Linked DNA regions of Homo sapiens: region 1 is linked to region 2. The links are contacts of gene promoters, found by promoter capture Hi-C in human tissues and cell types (Jung and others, 2019). All regions are on one chromosome and are shown on one strand. The core of a region is centred on a gene start or on the middle of the fragment in contact, and the rest is flanking DNA. Distances in the headings are between cores, read along the strand shown. Region 1 overlaps PRKX (protein kinase cAMP-dependent X-linked catalytic subunit). Region 2 holds the start of ARSF (arylsulfatase F).

The links. The method cuts DNA at HindIII sites, captures the fragments that hold promoters and counts their contacts. A contact is called where the count stands out against the background at its distance.
Region 1: a contact is called between a fragment that was not itself captured here and the fragment with the promoter of ARSF in region 2, in 2 of the 25 tissues and cell types used here (bladder and mesenchymal stem cells).

The regions. Positions count from the first base shown.
Region 1 is chrX:3,619,079-3,626,304 of GRCh38, forward strand. PRKX (protein kinase cAMP-dependent X-linked catalytic subunit) reads right to left here. Exons shown (of 9, transcript NM_005044.5): 6 at 2,181-2,238. Among named protein-coding and RNA genes, the nearest start is that of PRKX-AS1, 37 kb to the right of the region's middle. The HindIII fragment of the contact is 4,454 bases long and covers 1-4,227 here.
Region 2 is chrX:3,038,894-3,046,060 of GRCh38, forward strand. It overlaps ARSF (arylsulfatase F), which reads left to right and starts at 2,578. Exons shown (of 11, transcript NM_001201539.2): 1 at 2,578-2,770. The HindIII fragment of the contact is 6,572 bases long and covers 1,058-7,167 here.

The DNA.
Region 1 (7,226 bases), core at 751-3,250, 580 kb after region 2:
CAGTGCCTGTGAATATCACTTTATTTGGAAATAGGGTCTTTGCAGATGTAACTAAATTAAGGTTCTTGAGATGACATCATCCTGGAGAAGGGTGGGCCCTAAATCCAGTGACAGGTGTCCTCATAAGAGACAGAGGAGGAGACACAAACATAGAGAAGGCCATGTGAAAATGGAGGTGGAGACTGCAGTGGTGTGGCCACAAGCCTAGGGATGCCTGGAGCCCCCAGGAGCTGGGAGAGGCAGGAAGGATCCCCCACTAGAGCCTCTAGCAGGAAGCAGACACAATTATCACACATTGGGCAGTGGCCCTCAAAATATATGCCCATGTCCTGACTCCCAGTACCTGGGAATGGAACCCTACATGCAAATAGGGTCTTTGTAAATGTAATTAAGGGAAGGCTCTTGAGAAGAGATAATCCTGCATTAGGATGACCCTAAACCCAATGACAGGCATCCTTCTGAGAGACAGAAGAGGAGACACAGACACAGAGAAGGCCACGTGAAGAAAGACAGAGACTGGAGTGATGCGGCCATAAGCCCAGGGATGCCCGGAGCCCCCAGGGGCTGGGAGAGGCAGGAATGATCCTCCCCTAGAGCCTCTGGAGGCCTGAGACACCTTGATCTCAGACTCCTCGTCTCCAGGATGGGGAAAGCAGAAATTCCTGTTGTTTAAGCCCCTAGTTTGTGGTCAGTTCTTATGGCAGCTACTGGAGACTCGTAAACCACACAGAGGGCCCCAAGAGAGCCAAGTGGTTCAAGCCTCACACCCCGGTGTACTGTGTCTCTCCAGACTGTAATTTACAGGGTCAAGACGTATATGGAAGTTCCTCCATGTATAAGTCCCTCTGAGGTTGTCCAGAGCTAGAAATGGCCAACAAAAAGTCCATGAATTCTGTCAAATTCAGGGATGTCAAAACACGCATATCAGGTATGATACTACTTAAGGAATAGTCTGTTTGTCAATTATATACTTGCCTCCACACAAAAAGTTTGTGGAAATCATACCTGATGCACAACTTTTAAAATCATCACCTGCGCACACAAAACACCTACTCTCATGTCCATGGCAGAACCATTCACAAAAGCCAAAAGGTGGAAACAGCCCAGATGTCCATCCATAGATGAATGGATAAACAAAACGAGGTCTGCCCACACAATCGAATACTATGCAGTCAGGAAAAGGAAGGAAGCTCTGACACGGGCTACAGCCTGGATGAACCTTGAAGACATCGTGCTCAGAGAAAGAAGCCAGAGGCAAAAGCTTACATTTTGTACAATTCCATTTTTAGCAGAGCCCAGAACACCGAACCCTACAGAGAAAGTCAGTAGATTAGTGGCTGCTTAGGGTAGGGGTCCCCAGCCCCTGGGCCACAAACTGGTAGTGGTCCACGGCCTATGAGGAACCAAAATGGGCCGCACACCAGGAGGTGAGCAGCAGGCAGGTGAGCGAAGCTTCACCTGTACTGACAGCTGCTCCCCATGGCTGGCATTAGCACCTGAGCTCCGCCTCCTGTCAGATCAGCAGTGGCATTAGATTCTCATAGGAGCACACACCCTATTGTGAACTGCGCAACTAAGGGATTTAGGTTGTGCGGTCTGTGGAAAAACTGTCTTCCACAAAACTGGCCCCTGGTGCCAAAAAGGTCGGGGACCGCTGGCTTAGGGCAAGAGAGGATGAAAGAATAGCACAGTGATAACTGAAGGGTGCAGGGTTTCTTTTTTTGAACTGATGAAGATGTTCTAAGATTAACCACAGGGGTGGCTGTACATAATCGTGTGTATACTAAAAGCCACCGAATTGCACATTTTAGATGGGTAAATGGCATGGCGTGTGAATTCACTCTCCGTAAAACTGTTTAAAAAATAAAATAAATAAGTAAACAAAATAATGAGTAATAACTTATGCATTGTTATTGCTCTATTAACCTTGCTTGAGGGGAGGGGAGATACGGTGTAGACCCAGTTTGACGTTGTGGGCCCAGAAACCGAGATTTGATAGATCTTTCCTGGCAGTTTCAAGTAAAATTTAAAAAAATAAATAAAACACCAGATTTGAAATTTGGGCAGTGATTAAATACGACCGCTAAGCCTTGGTTTATACCTGCACATGCCAATGTGGGTGTTAGACGGCAGACACGCACATCGGGTACCACTGAATACCCACGGGATCAAATACTGACCTTCATGTTTCCTAATCGCCTTGTTCTGTCAACCACGAGCAGTTTCTTAATGAGGTCTCTATGTTGGGGAAGGAGACAAAAAAAAAAAAAGTACACAGATTATATATCAACATCAGCAAACGCAGCATGGCAACAGAGATAAGATCTATCTGACATGAGGACCGCAGTTCAATTTCCACTTTGGCAAAACACTTTCTAGTGCTTATTTCCTACCATCACCGGCTCTTAAATCACCTATGCAAGGCTGGGTTGCCCCGTGCAAGGCTGAAGCTAAGGGAAGGGGGTTGATTACATCTTTGTAAAGAAAATACACCTCTGAGTAGAAAAGGGTGAAATTTATATGTGCCTGCAGGGAGGATCCAGACACTTAACGTAAACATGCCTGTCAGGCTGTCCCTGCAAAATAGAAGACATCTGCTTTCACCAACATCAACACTCACGCGCTGTCCTGGGGGTCTGCTTATTGATGGGATTCCTGTTTTAAAAGGCTGGCTTTCCCATAAGCACACACATTAGGATGAGTCTCCTAAGTCTGCTTCTTCACTTATAATCTTCCTTTTAAATAACAGACCATGTCAGAAGTACAGCAGGTGGGGAGGTTGGGCATACTGGCTCACACCAGTAATCCCAGCACTGTGGGGAGGCCGAGGCGGGTGGATCACTTGACGTGAGGAGTTTGAGACCAGCCTGGCCAACATGGTGAAACCCCATCTCTACAAAAAAAAAGAAAAAGAAATTCGCTGGGCATGCTGGCACACAACTGTGGTCCCAGCTACTTGGGAGGCTGAGGCACAAGAACCGCTTGAACCCAGGAGGCGAAGGTTGCAGTGAGCTGAGACTGAGCCACTGCACTCCAGTCTGGGTGACAGAGGTAGAGTCAGTCTCAAAAAAAAACAAAAACAAACAACAACAACGACAACAAAAAACAGCAAGCTGCTTCAATTAGGATGGGTAGTTGGAGATGATGTTGAAGACTTCCAGGAGATTAGGTGAGTTCTAAAAGATGCATATTTATGGAAGTAGAAATGATCATGTGTGTCTGTGTGTACACATAAAATACACAGAGTACATTATGTATAATAACATACATAATATGATATAATAATATAATATATTGAAGTCCCCCAAAACAATCCAATACCCATGACCCCGGTGTAAGCGTCTAGGCTTTCCCAGCATAAACTATGCCCCAAGGTAAGTAGCACGAACTTGGACTGAGCCACTCCCAGGTTCTGTGACAGACTGTGGAGTCTCCGACAAGCCAGGTGACGTCCTAGGGTCAGACTCCACCATCTAGATTGTGAATCTCGCCAGTGCTGTCTGATCGGAAATTTTACAGTTTCCTGCCACCATGCTTTCTGAATTAGGATGGGATGCTTGTCAGACTTCACCGCTTCTCTGCCACAAAGTAAAACTCAGAGACCATCTGTCCGCCCACCTAAGGCTAGGATTTTGTATCCATCCTGTAAGGCTGAAAAGCTTTGAGCAGGATGGGGAATATAAAAATCACCTAAAAGTTAGAAACCTTTCCACTACTTAGTGAGTTTCTCCTTCATTATTTTGACATGCTCCCCCCTGCCAAAAAAAAATCAAGGTTATCAAACACTATACCCCCAAAACATTCCCAAATAAATGTGGGGCTTCGTCCCCCACGTGATTTACACCACTGCCTGCCCCCTTACCACACACACTTAAAGCTCACTGGAGTGCAATTATAAGACAGGTTTATTTATGCTTTTATATTTTAGATAAACCTTTGTTTTCTTATAATCCCAGTCCAATCAGCTTTAAGTGTATACGCTAATGGGGCAGGCAGTGGTGTAAATTATAGGGGGGAAAAAAAGCCCTATGTTTATTTCAGAATGTTTTGGTGATCACCTGATAAATTTCAACGTGTGTGTGTGTGTGTGTGTGTGTGTGTGTGTGTGTCATGTAAGAAAACAAAATGTTTGATGACCTTGAATTTTTTTTTAAATTTTTTTGGTGTTTGGCATGTAAGAAAATGAAGATTTATTTAAAATACAGGGGACAGTGGCTTGTAATCCCAGCTATGCAGTGGGCTGAAGTGGGAAGACCACGTGAGACCAAGAGTTCGAAACCAGCATGGGCAACATAGTAAGACCCTCGTTTCTACAAAATATCAAAACATTGGCCAGGCATGGTGGTGCATGCCTGTAGCACCAGTTACTCGGGAGGCTGAGGTGGGAGTGTCATTTGAGCCCAGGACGTCGAGGCTGCAGTGAGCTATGATTGTGCCACTGCACTCCAGCCGGGGTGACAGAGCAAGACACCCGTCTCTTTAAAAGAAAAAGTAAAATACCAAAGCAAACTCTTATAAAGCAGTCTAGAAAGTAAAGAGTATGGATGAGAAGAGGCCCCTGAAGATGCAAAGCCCTATAAAGGAACGACAGAAGTGTCCACAGCTGTAGATGGGTCCCTTGACCCCGGGATAAGCGACACATCTGCCGGCACTCTTTTGATGCACTGTAGCCAAAATTCTACATTTTATTTACGATCCTGGCACCAGCTGGCTCCTCTCAGATGCAGGTACTTTCAGGTGTTGTAAAAAACACCGGCAGATAATACCTCTACTGAATTGGCAACAAGTCCCAAAGCTTTGTTTTGGTGTTTTGTTTTAAATGATATTTATTTCTATAAGGAATGTCAATCCTGATGTGCCATTTGCCCAGGCGACATGTTTACCTGGTCAAATGATAAAAGTTGCAGGAACCAACATATGACTTTAAAAAGCAGAGAATCAAAATTCTAGCATCATGGACAACCAGGGACAGTGATTTGGATAAGAAAAATGCCTCATTAAGGCCAGGTGCAGTGGTTCACGCCTGTAATCCCAACACTTGGGGAGGACAAGGCAGGAGGATCAGTTGAGCCCAGGAGTTCAAAAGCAGCCTAGGCAATGCAGCAAGATCCCCATACCCATCTCTACCAAAAAAAGGAAAGATATGAGTCATTGAGGTCTTGCTTCTCAGCCAATTTGATAAGATTTAACAAATAATGGGAAGAAGTGAACTGTCAGTTCACTTCTATCTATCACTGTTTCTGCTCTTGGGGAACCCACACTGGGTATGTAAAGAAACAGGGGCACTGTGGGGAACACTGGAAGGGGCTGGGAGCTGCATAAAGAGAGGCATGTTAGATCAGACAGTACCAAGATGGTCGCTGCTGGTTCCCTACTCTCAAAGAAGATAAACTAGGAGAGAAAGAAGGACAAGTGGCAAGAGACCAGACTTTGATTACGCTTCTGGTTTATTCTATTTCTGCAATTCCTTTTTTTGTTGTTGTTTCCACAGAACATTGGAAACCCCCCCCATATATATATATAATTATATCTTTTAATTTTATTATTTTTTCTTTTCTTGACACAGAGTTTCACTCTTTCATCCAGTCTGGAGTGCAGTGGTGCAATCATAGGTCACTGCAGCCTCGACTTCCTGGGCTCAAGCAGTCCTCCCATCTCAGCCTCCCTAGTAGCTGGGACTACAGGCACTTGCTACCATGCCCAGCTAATTTTTAAATTTTTTGTAGACATGGGGTCTTGCTACATTGTCCAGGCTGGCCTCAAACTATTGGATTGGCCCCAAGCAATCCTCCCACTTCGGATTGCTCCTGAAGTGCTGGGATTACAGGCATGAGCACCTCACCTGGCCAAACTCGATCATAAAAGTGCTTTGCCATCCACTTAATATAATGTCACTCAACTCAGATGGGATTTGGGGCCTGAGAGAGAGGTTCTATATAATCCTTTCTATTTCCTTCCAGAGCAGTCGGCTTCTGAGGTGCTGTTTCCCCTGACACCTCCCTGTCTTACCATTCACTGGACAGGGTGTCCCTTCTAGGCGACTCATTGTTAAGCGGAGCCTCGTTTTCTTGCTAAAGTCTTTTAAAGCCTGCCTCTTAGTGTGTCAAACACAACACATGCTCAAGCCAATAAAACACGACCTTATCTTCTGTTCAGACTAAGAACCTCTGGTTAGGATGGGGTGCGTTCACCACCAAGAAACTCAACTGAACGTAGCCAGTGGCCCCATAAGGGGCATATTCAAAACAACCTGCTCCATCGCCCTGAAATAAGTCTTCTCTGAACTGAACTTCCACCGGCTCATAAGAAAATAGACCATGGAAAAGAAAAGTTTAATTCTCAACTAGATGCATTTAGCTCTAGTTTGTGCCCAGGGGGCTGGTGCACCCATCAACTCATCTGAAAAATACAGTGAAACAAACAGAAATCAGTGCTTATTACAGTAAAAATGGCTACCAGTTGACCAGATTGGGTAAGGTAGCCAGAAAACCAAAAGCATTCTTTTTTTTTTGAGACAGAATCTTGCTCTGTCGCCCAGGCTGGAATGTAGTGGTGCGATCTCAGCTCACTGCAACCTCCGCCTCCTGGGTTCAAGCGATTCCGCTGTCTCAGCCTCCCAAGTAGCTGAGACTACAGGCGCCCACCACCACACCCAGCTAATTTTTTATATTTTCAGTAGAGCCGAGGTTTCACCGTGTTTCCCAGGATGGTCTCGATCTCCTGACCTCGTGTTCCACCCACCTCAACCTCCCAAAGTGCTGGGATTACAGGCATGAGCCACCACGCCCAGCCGCGTTCTTATATTTAAGAAAATAATATATTTTTTCCCTACTGCCACGACCTTTATAAAATGTGCATCCAAAGTTGCCAATATCCAGCAACTGTAAATATCCTTGAAGCAACATGCTCAGAACTGAAAATGTTGACGTTAAAAAGGACTTAGAGGTTGAGCATAATTTAAGCAGGAGAGAAAGGATAAAACTCTGCTAAACCCATCAACAGTTCTGTTAGCCACAGAACTAGGAGGATCCTTCTTGTCAAATTCCAAAACTGCTCTCTTATAAAATACGATGACAAACTCGTTCATTGGCTCATTTTAAATATAACATACCACCAAAAGAACACAATACGGCCAAGACTCATTAAAATGTGAAGCTATCATTAAAGTAGAATACTGAAAATCTTTTTCTTTTCTTGTGGAAAAGACAACTGTCCAAAATAGTTTA
Region 2 (7,167 bases), core at 1,328-3,827:
GCCTTAATGGGAAATGCGTGGATTGAAGAAAACCTGATTCATGCAATCAGAGGTGGGTGGGAAAGAATTACACCGAAGAAGCAGAAAATCTGATATGTGTAAAAAAGGGAAAATAATATAAAGTGAAACTGCAGGACTCAATCCAAATATAACCATGATCATAATAAACATGGATGGATTAAAATTCCTTTAAAAAAGATAGGCTTTCTGAATGGGAAAATAAACATAAAATCCGGACATACGGTAGTGTAGGAGGCAGCTTAATTAAAAACAAACAAAATGTTGAAAATAAATGGATGCATTTGATATGATTCTGTTCCACTATCCAATCTAAGTAATGGTCAATTATTTTATAGATTGTTCTTCAGTTTTTTTTTTTTTTTTTGAGACAGAGTCTTCCTTTATCCCTCAGGCCGGAGTGCAGTGGTGCGATCTTGGCTCACTGCAACCTCTGCCTCCCAGGTTCAAGCAATTCTCATGCCTCAGCCTCCACAATTGCTGGGAGTAGAGGCACCTGCCACCACGCCCGGCTAGTTTTTGTATTTTTAGTAGAGACGGGGTTTCACCTTGTTGGCCAGGCTGGTCTCGAACTCCTGATGTCAGGTGATCCGCCCGCCTCAGCCTCCCAAAGTGCTGGAATTACAGGCTTGAGCCACTGTGCCCAGCCTTCAGTTTGGTTTTGTCCAGTGTTTTCTCATGATTAGACTGAGGTTATGCATTTTTGGCAAAAAAATCATCAGAATTGATGTAAGTTTTCAGTGTGTCATGTTACGGAGTGCATGATGTCTGTATGTCCTGTCCTGGTGATGTTAAATTTCATCACCTGGATTAAGTGGTGTCTGTTGGAATTCTCCACTGTGAAATTATTATTTTTTCTGATCCAGGAAAGGTTAAGCAAGAGTCTGGCACCATTTTAAGTCTAATAAGAAACATTTACTACCTGATTTCTCTGAAGCCTGCTACCTGCGGGCTACATGTGCATAATAAAAACTTTGGTCTCCTCAACGCCTTATCCTCACCCAGACATTTCCTTTCTACTAATTACAGGTCTTTAATCAGAAAATCCTGGAATCCACCTACGACCTGGAAGTTCCTCACTTTGAATGGAATCCCACCTTTCTGGACTAAGCCAATGTACATCTCACATGTGTCGATTGATGTCTCCTGTCCCCGTAAATTGTATAAAGCCAAGCTGTCACCCAACCACCTTGGGCACTTGTTCTCAGGACCTCCTTGGGGCTGTGTCGTGAGCCATTGGTTAAATGAATAACTCTTTTCAAATATTTTACAGAGTTTGACTCTTTTCATGGACATTAATTGGTGCCCTACACGTGGGGCCTCAGAAAAGACTCAGAATCCTTGACGCAGTTGCCCGAACCCGGAGCTAAGTTACCCGCAGGGCCATTGGAAGCCCTCCCTGGCTTTAGGTTTCTCCTCCAGTGGAACCGGTGAGTCCTCTGCAGCTCTGGACCTTCCATTTGGTTGATGGTCCTTGGTTCATTCTGAGCTGTTTTTCTACCTCCTTTTTATTTTTCTCCTAGGAAGTTGTTGTATAGGATCCTACTTTAGGTTTGGTGGTGCATTCTAAATGGTCTTCTCCACTGCCCTTTTCCCCCCAAATTAATGTCGATTGGCCTGTGAGTACATTTGCGTGAGAGACTGAACTGCCACTTTTGTGGCATAATTTTGAATTGCCAAACGAGAGGCTGACCTCCTCAGCTTGGAAAAGAAAGGGAGTTTTGCTCCTCCTAGCCAAAAACCACCCCTGGGTGGTAGGGGTTGAGTGGGAGTCTCTGGGGGATTGACTCCTGCCATGATGTGCAGTGACCCTACAGGGAACCACACAACAAAATTAATTTTAAGAGGCTCATCCAGGAGACAGGTGTAAGAGCTGATCACTTGCTATGTTGAGCCCTGTCAGAGGTCTAGACCTCTGGAGAGAGAAACTCAGACACGTGAAAGGGTAGAAAGACTCAGTGGTGACACACAGTGTAGTCCCTCTCACAGCCAGCACACTTCAATCCACCCTACTAAAACCCAGGCCACAGTTTAGTTCCTCATTTTAAAATAAAAGTGGGAGACATAGCATGTAAGGATGAGGAAAGGCGGAGAGAGCGACCCCCATTTGGGCACCCCTTTTGGTTCTCTGGTTCCTCTACTTGCAAGTATTTGTGTAAGCGGGAAAAGCTTGAGGGCATGCCAGGTCAAACAAGAAGCTTCCTGTTACATATTATGTCTGTGCTTGTTCACACTTTAAACTGCTGCACACATTACACCAGAGAAAATTCCAGCCCAAAGGTCAACCTGCAACCAATCAGTTCCTAAGTCCTCTATTTTGCTATTTTCTTTTCTGCCTACTTTAAATCTTCTGTTTACTTTTTGTTCTTTTCTTTTCTTTTCTTTTTCTTTTTTTTTTTTTTTGAGACAGAGTCTTGCTCTGTCACCCAGGCTGGAGTGCAATGGCGCTATCTACTGCAGCCTCTGCCTTCCAGGTTCAAGCGATTCTCCTGCCTCAGCCTCCCCAGTAGCTGGGATTACAGACGTGCGCCACCACGTCTACGTAATTTTTGTATTTTTAGTGGAGACAGGCTCTCACCATGTTGACCAGGCTGGTCTCGAACTCCCGACCTCAAGTGATCCGCCGGCCTCGGCCTCCCAAAGTGCTGGGATTACAGGCGTGAACCACCACTCCTGGCCCTTCTGTTACTTTTCCACTGCTGTTGAGATAGAAGTCACTGTTGGGATCCAACCTTTTTGTTTGTATAAACTGGTGAGTTTGTGTTGATATCTCTTGCTAGAGTTCTGAAGTAAAAGCTATAGGATCTTTGTGTGAGTGTGCATGCGTATTTAGATGTGTTTATGTACATGCACATATGTGTGCACATATACATTTTTTACGTGCTTTAGCCCTGAAGTGTCAAATTGGCTTCAAGTCAAAGAGTACTCATAAATTAAATAATAAGCCAAAACGCTTTTCAAGTTCACGTGACTTACATAAATCTTTAATAAATAAGCTGGCTTTAAAATTATTGGTACGATAGTATTAGAAATATCTTAAAAATTGTCAGCATACATGTTTGTTTGCATTTACTGATCAAGCAGTTTCATATTTACCTCTGACAGATATTATAAGGTGTCAAAATTTGGCATAAGGCTTACAAAACTATAAACCCAGCAACCCAGCATGAAACACAATAATCTTTGTTTCTGTACTTTTTGAGAAATAAGACGTTTAATGTTATTAGTGTAGTAAAAAGAGCTAAATCCCAAGTTATCAGTAAAATATATATATATTTAAAATTTTTGCTTAGGCAAACACAGAAAATTCATAGACTATAAAAATGGTTAACAGGGAAATAACTTTAAATGATGACTATCAGAGTTTTCACAGATAATCTAGGTAAAAGATTTTATAAAATTAATTAGGTAAATGTAATGAAACAAATGCCTGTAAATAAATATAATTTAGAATCTAAAGTTAAATAATAGATATTCACTAAATGTCTGGGCCATTTTCAATTTAAATAAATTGTATTATAGAAAAACTTTTCTAAAAAATATGTTCTTATTCAAAGCTAAGTTATTTTCATCTAATTCCATGTTTATTTATTTATATTTTTTGAGATGGAGCCTCGCTCTGTCTCCCAGGCTGGAGTGCAATGGTGCAGTCTCAGCTCACTGCAACCTCTGCCTCCCAGGTTCAAGCGATTCTCCTGCCTCAGCCTCCCTTGTAGCTGGGATTACAGGTGCCCACCACCATGCCTGGCTAATTTTTGTAATTTTAGTAGAGATAGGGGTCTTGCCATGTTGGCCAGGCTGGTCTCGAACTCCTAACCTCAGGTGATCCACCCACCTAAGCCTCCCAAAGTGCTGGGATAACAGGTGCAAGCCACCGCACCCGGCCAGATTCTAGGTTTATTTAAGGGTTATTTATGAAATATGGTAAAAGGAACCAAGAAACAAGAGATGTAAAGAAAGTTAGGCTGCGTGCATTGGGTCACACCTGTAATCCCAGCACTTTGGGAGGCTGAGGCAGGCGGATCATGAGGTCAGGAGTTTGAGACCAGCCTGACCAACACAGTGAAACCCCACCTCTACTAAAAATATAAAAATTAGTCAGGCATGGTGGCATGTGCCTGTAATCCCAGCTACTCAGGAGGCTGAGGTAGGAGAATTGCTTGCACCCGGGAGGCAGAGGTTGCAGTGAGCCAAGATCGTGCCACTGCACTCCAGGCTGGGTGACAGAGCGAGACTACTCCATCTCAAAAAAAAAGAAGAAGAAAGTTACAAGGAGGTATTTTTGGTAAGAAATGTTAAAAGAAAAATAATTTTGTATGAGAAAGAATCTTGTTGTTTAAGAGAGATGTTTAGGACAGAACAGAAAATCCAAGCAGGTTGTATATGGTCTGTGCAAGTCATAATACAGTCTGTAAAAAAGGAATTCAAAAAAATTTTTATGTAATTAAGTTTGCTATAACTAAAAGGAAATTATAATCATTCTAGGTATTGGACTTCAATAATAAAAATACAGTAATGCAAAAGGAGATCATTGGTTAGAACAAGATTTTCTTAAAATACTGATGTACTCAGTGAAATTGCAAGAAGTTTTTTATTTTTGAATTCCATAATCTCTTCTTGAAATTCTTCAGATGGACATCCTAGGGGTTCCACTTCTGCTGCATCCTGCTTGCCTCAGAGCTTTCCCTCTTTTGAAAAGGCCTGGGATGGTAACTCTCTCCTTCAACTTTTGCTGGCTCCCGTAATTTTTTAAAAATTAATAGTCTAAAGGAAGAGAGAGAATTTTTGAAAACAGGCAAGTGAAAAATGTTATAGGATGTGCCTCTATCTGTGTGTCTGTCTATAAGTTTATTTATTGTCTGTTTGTTTGATTGATTTGTTTATTTTGGAGACAGGGTCTCACTCTGTCACCCAGGCTGGAGCGCAGTGGTGTGATCTTGGTTCACTGTTCCCTTGAGCACTGGGCTCAAGGGATCCTCCTGCCTCACCTCAGCCATCCATGTAGCTGGAACCACAGGTGCATACTATCTCGCCCAGCTAATTTTTTGTATTTTTTATGTAGAGATGGGGTTTTGCCATGTTGGCCAGGCTGGTCTCAGTCCTGAGCTCAAGCGATCCACCCGTCTTGGCCTCCTAAAGTGCTAGGATTACAGGCGTGTGGCACCATGCCTGGCCTTGTCTGTAAGTTTCTATCTGTCATGAGGAAGTAATATTTCAGTACCAAATTATATGAAAGAGCTCTAATCAAATGGCTTAAAGAAAAGTAAGTGCTTATCAGACAACCAAAAGCTAGCTCAGATGCTTTTAATTGACATTCCTTTAGTAATCTTTGGTAAGACTAATTTGGTAAATTTAATTTCAAAATCCTGTCCAGTGGTTTAAAATCTTAGAGTCACGTTAGATGGGACTGTTCCCCTGACCTTGACCCCCTTCGTGGGCAGGAACTGGAGTGGCTCATGTTACTCAGCCTGCAGTTTGTGGACAGCTATGTGTTAACAGCTCAGTGAAGGGTCAAGGTGACAGCCTTCTGCATCTGTCCTTTTGGACACCGACTTCTTGTTTGGTGTCCAAGAATCATCAGGTCACACAAACTGAAAGATGATGAATGTGGAGGACTTTATTGAGCAGTGGAAGTGGCTCTTGGTGGAAGAGGAGCTGGAAAGGGGATGGTGTGTGAAGAAGGTGATGTTTCTCTGAAGCCTAGCCTTCTCTGGCTGGGCTCCCCTCCAAAACCACACCGTCTGAAGTTAGTCATGTTTATCTGTAGTCTCCAATGCTCAGTTACTTCTCTGCTCGCCACTCAGTAGCTTGTATCCCTGCCGGTCAGCTGCTTGTGTTGCTTTTTTCTTTTTCTTTTTCGTTTTTCTTCCTGCCAGCTGGTCTGGTCCTTATGGGCACAGGATAGGGGGCAGGGCAGGCCAAAAAGGCAATCATCTGGGCAGAGAAACGAGGTCAGCTGCTTTCACTAGGGCCGAGCTTCCAGACTTGAGGTTGTAGTTTAGCCGGGAGCCCAGCCATCCTGTATCAATGTTAGATTAAATTAGGCAATCCTAGGTTTTGCACTGGAAATTAGGGTTACTGGGAGTTGGAATAGTAGGAGAGTAAGATGTATTTTTGGTGAGGTTTATAAAAACACAAAGATGTGGTTTTTGCCAAAGAAAATGTAATGTTTAGAGGCTATTTAAAGGTCACTTTAAAATAAATGGAAAATTATGTAGATAAAACTCATTGGAGAAAGAGAAAAATAAAGAGGTGGGGAATGAGAAACCTTTGACTTTTGGGTGGCCACGTGGTCACACATGGTAATGAAGTGGCATCATTTTCTGGGGTAAATACCCGAGATTCATTGTCTCATGGCCACAGAAATCGAGGACGTGGACACACAGAATGAGGTTGAGAGCAGAAGTTTAGTAGGCAAAAGAAAGAGAAGAGCTCTCTGCAGCAGAGCGGGGTCCTGGAGAAGTGGGTTGCTGCTTCTTTGCTGAAATGCAGCAAGTTTTATAGATGAGCTTGAGGAGGCAGTGTATGATTTACATAGGACGCAAAAGATTGGTTGGACCAGGTGTACCATTTTCATAGGGCATGTAAAGCTGGTTAGGACTAGATGTGTCATTTGCATAGGGCATGAAAAGCTGGGCTAATCTTTTTTTTTTTTTTTTTTGAGATAGAATTTTGCTCTTGTTGCCCAGGCTGGAGTGCAATGGCGCCATCTCGGCTCACTGCAACCTCCACCTCCCGGGTTCAAGTGATTCTCCTGCCTCAGCCTCCTGAGTAGCTGGGATTACAGGTGCCTGCCACCACACCTGGCTGATTTCGTACTTTTAGTACAGATGGGGTTTCTCCATGTTGGTCAGGCTGGTCTCAAACTCCTGACCTCAGGTGATCTGCCCACCTCGGTGCCTAATCTTTTATTATGCAGATGGACTCTTTACCTGGCTAGTGCCATGTCGCCTGTTTTTTTTGTTTGTTTTGTTTTGTTTTGTTTTTTGAGACGGAGTTTCACTCATTTTGCCCAGGCTGGGGTGCAGTGGCGTGATCTTGGCCTAATGCAACCTCTGCCTCCCGAGTTCAAGCAATTCTCCTGCCTCAGCCTCCTGAGTAGCTGGGATTACAGGCATGTGCCACCACGCCTGGCTAATTTTTGTATTT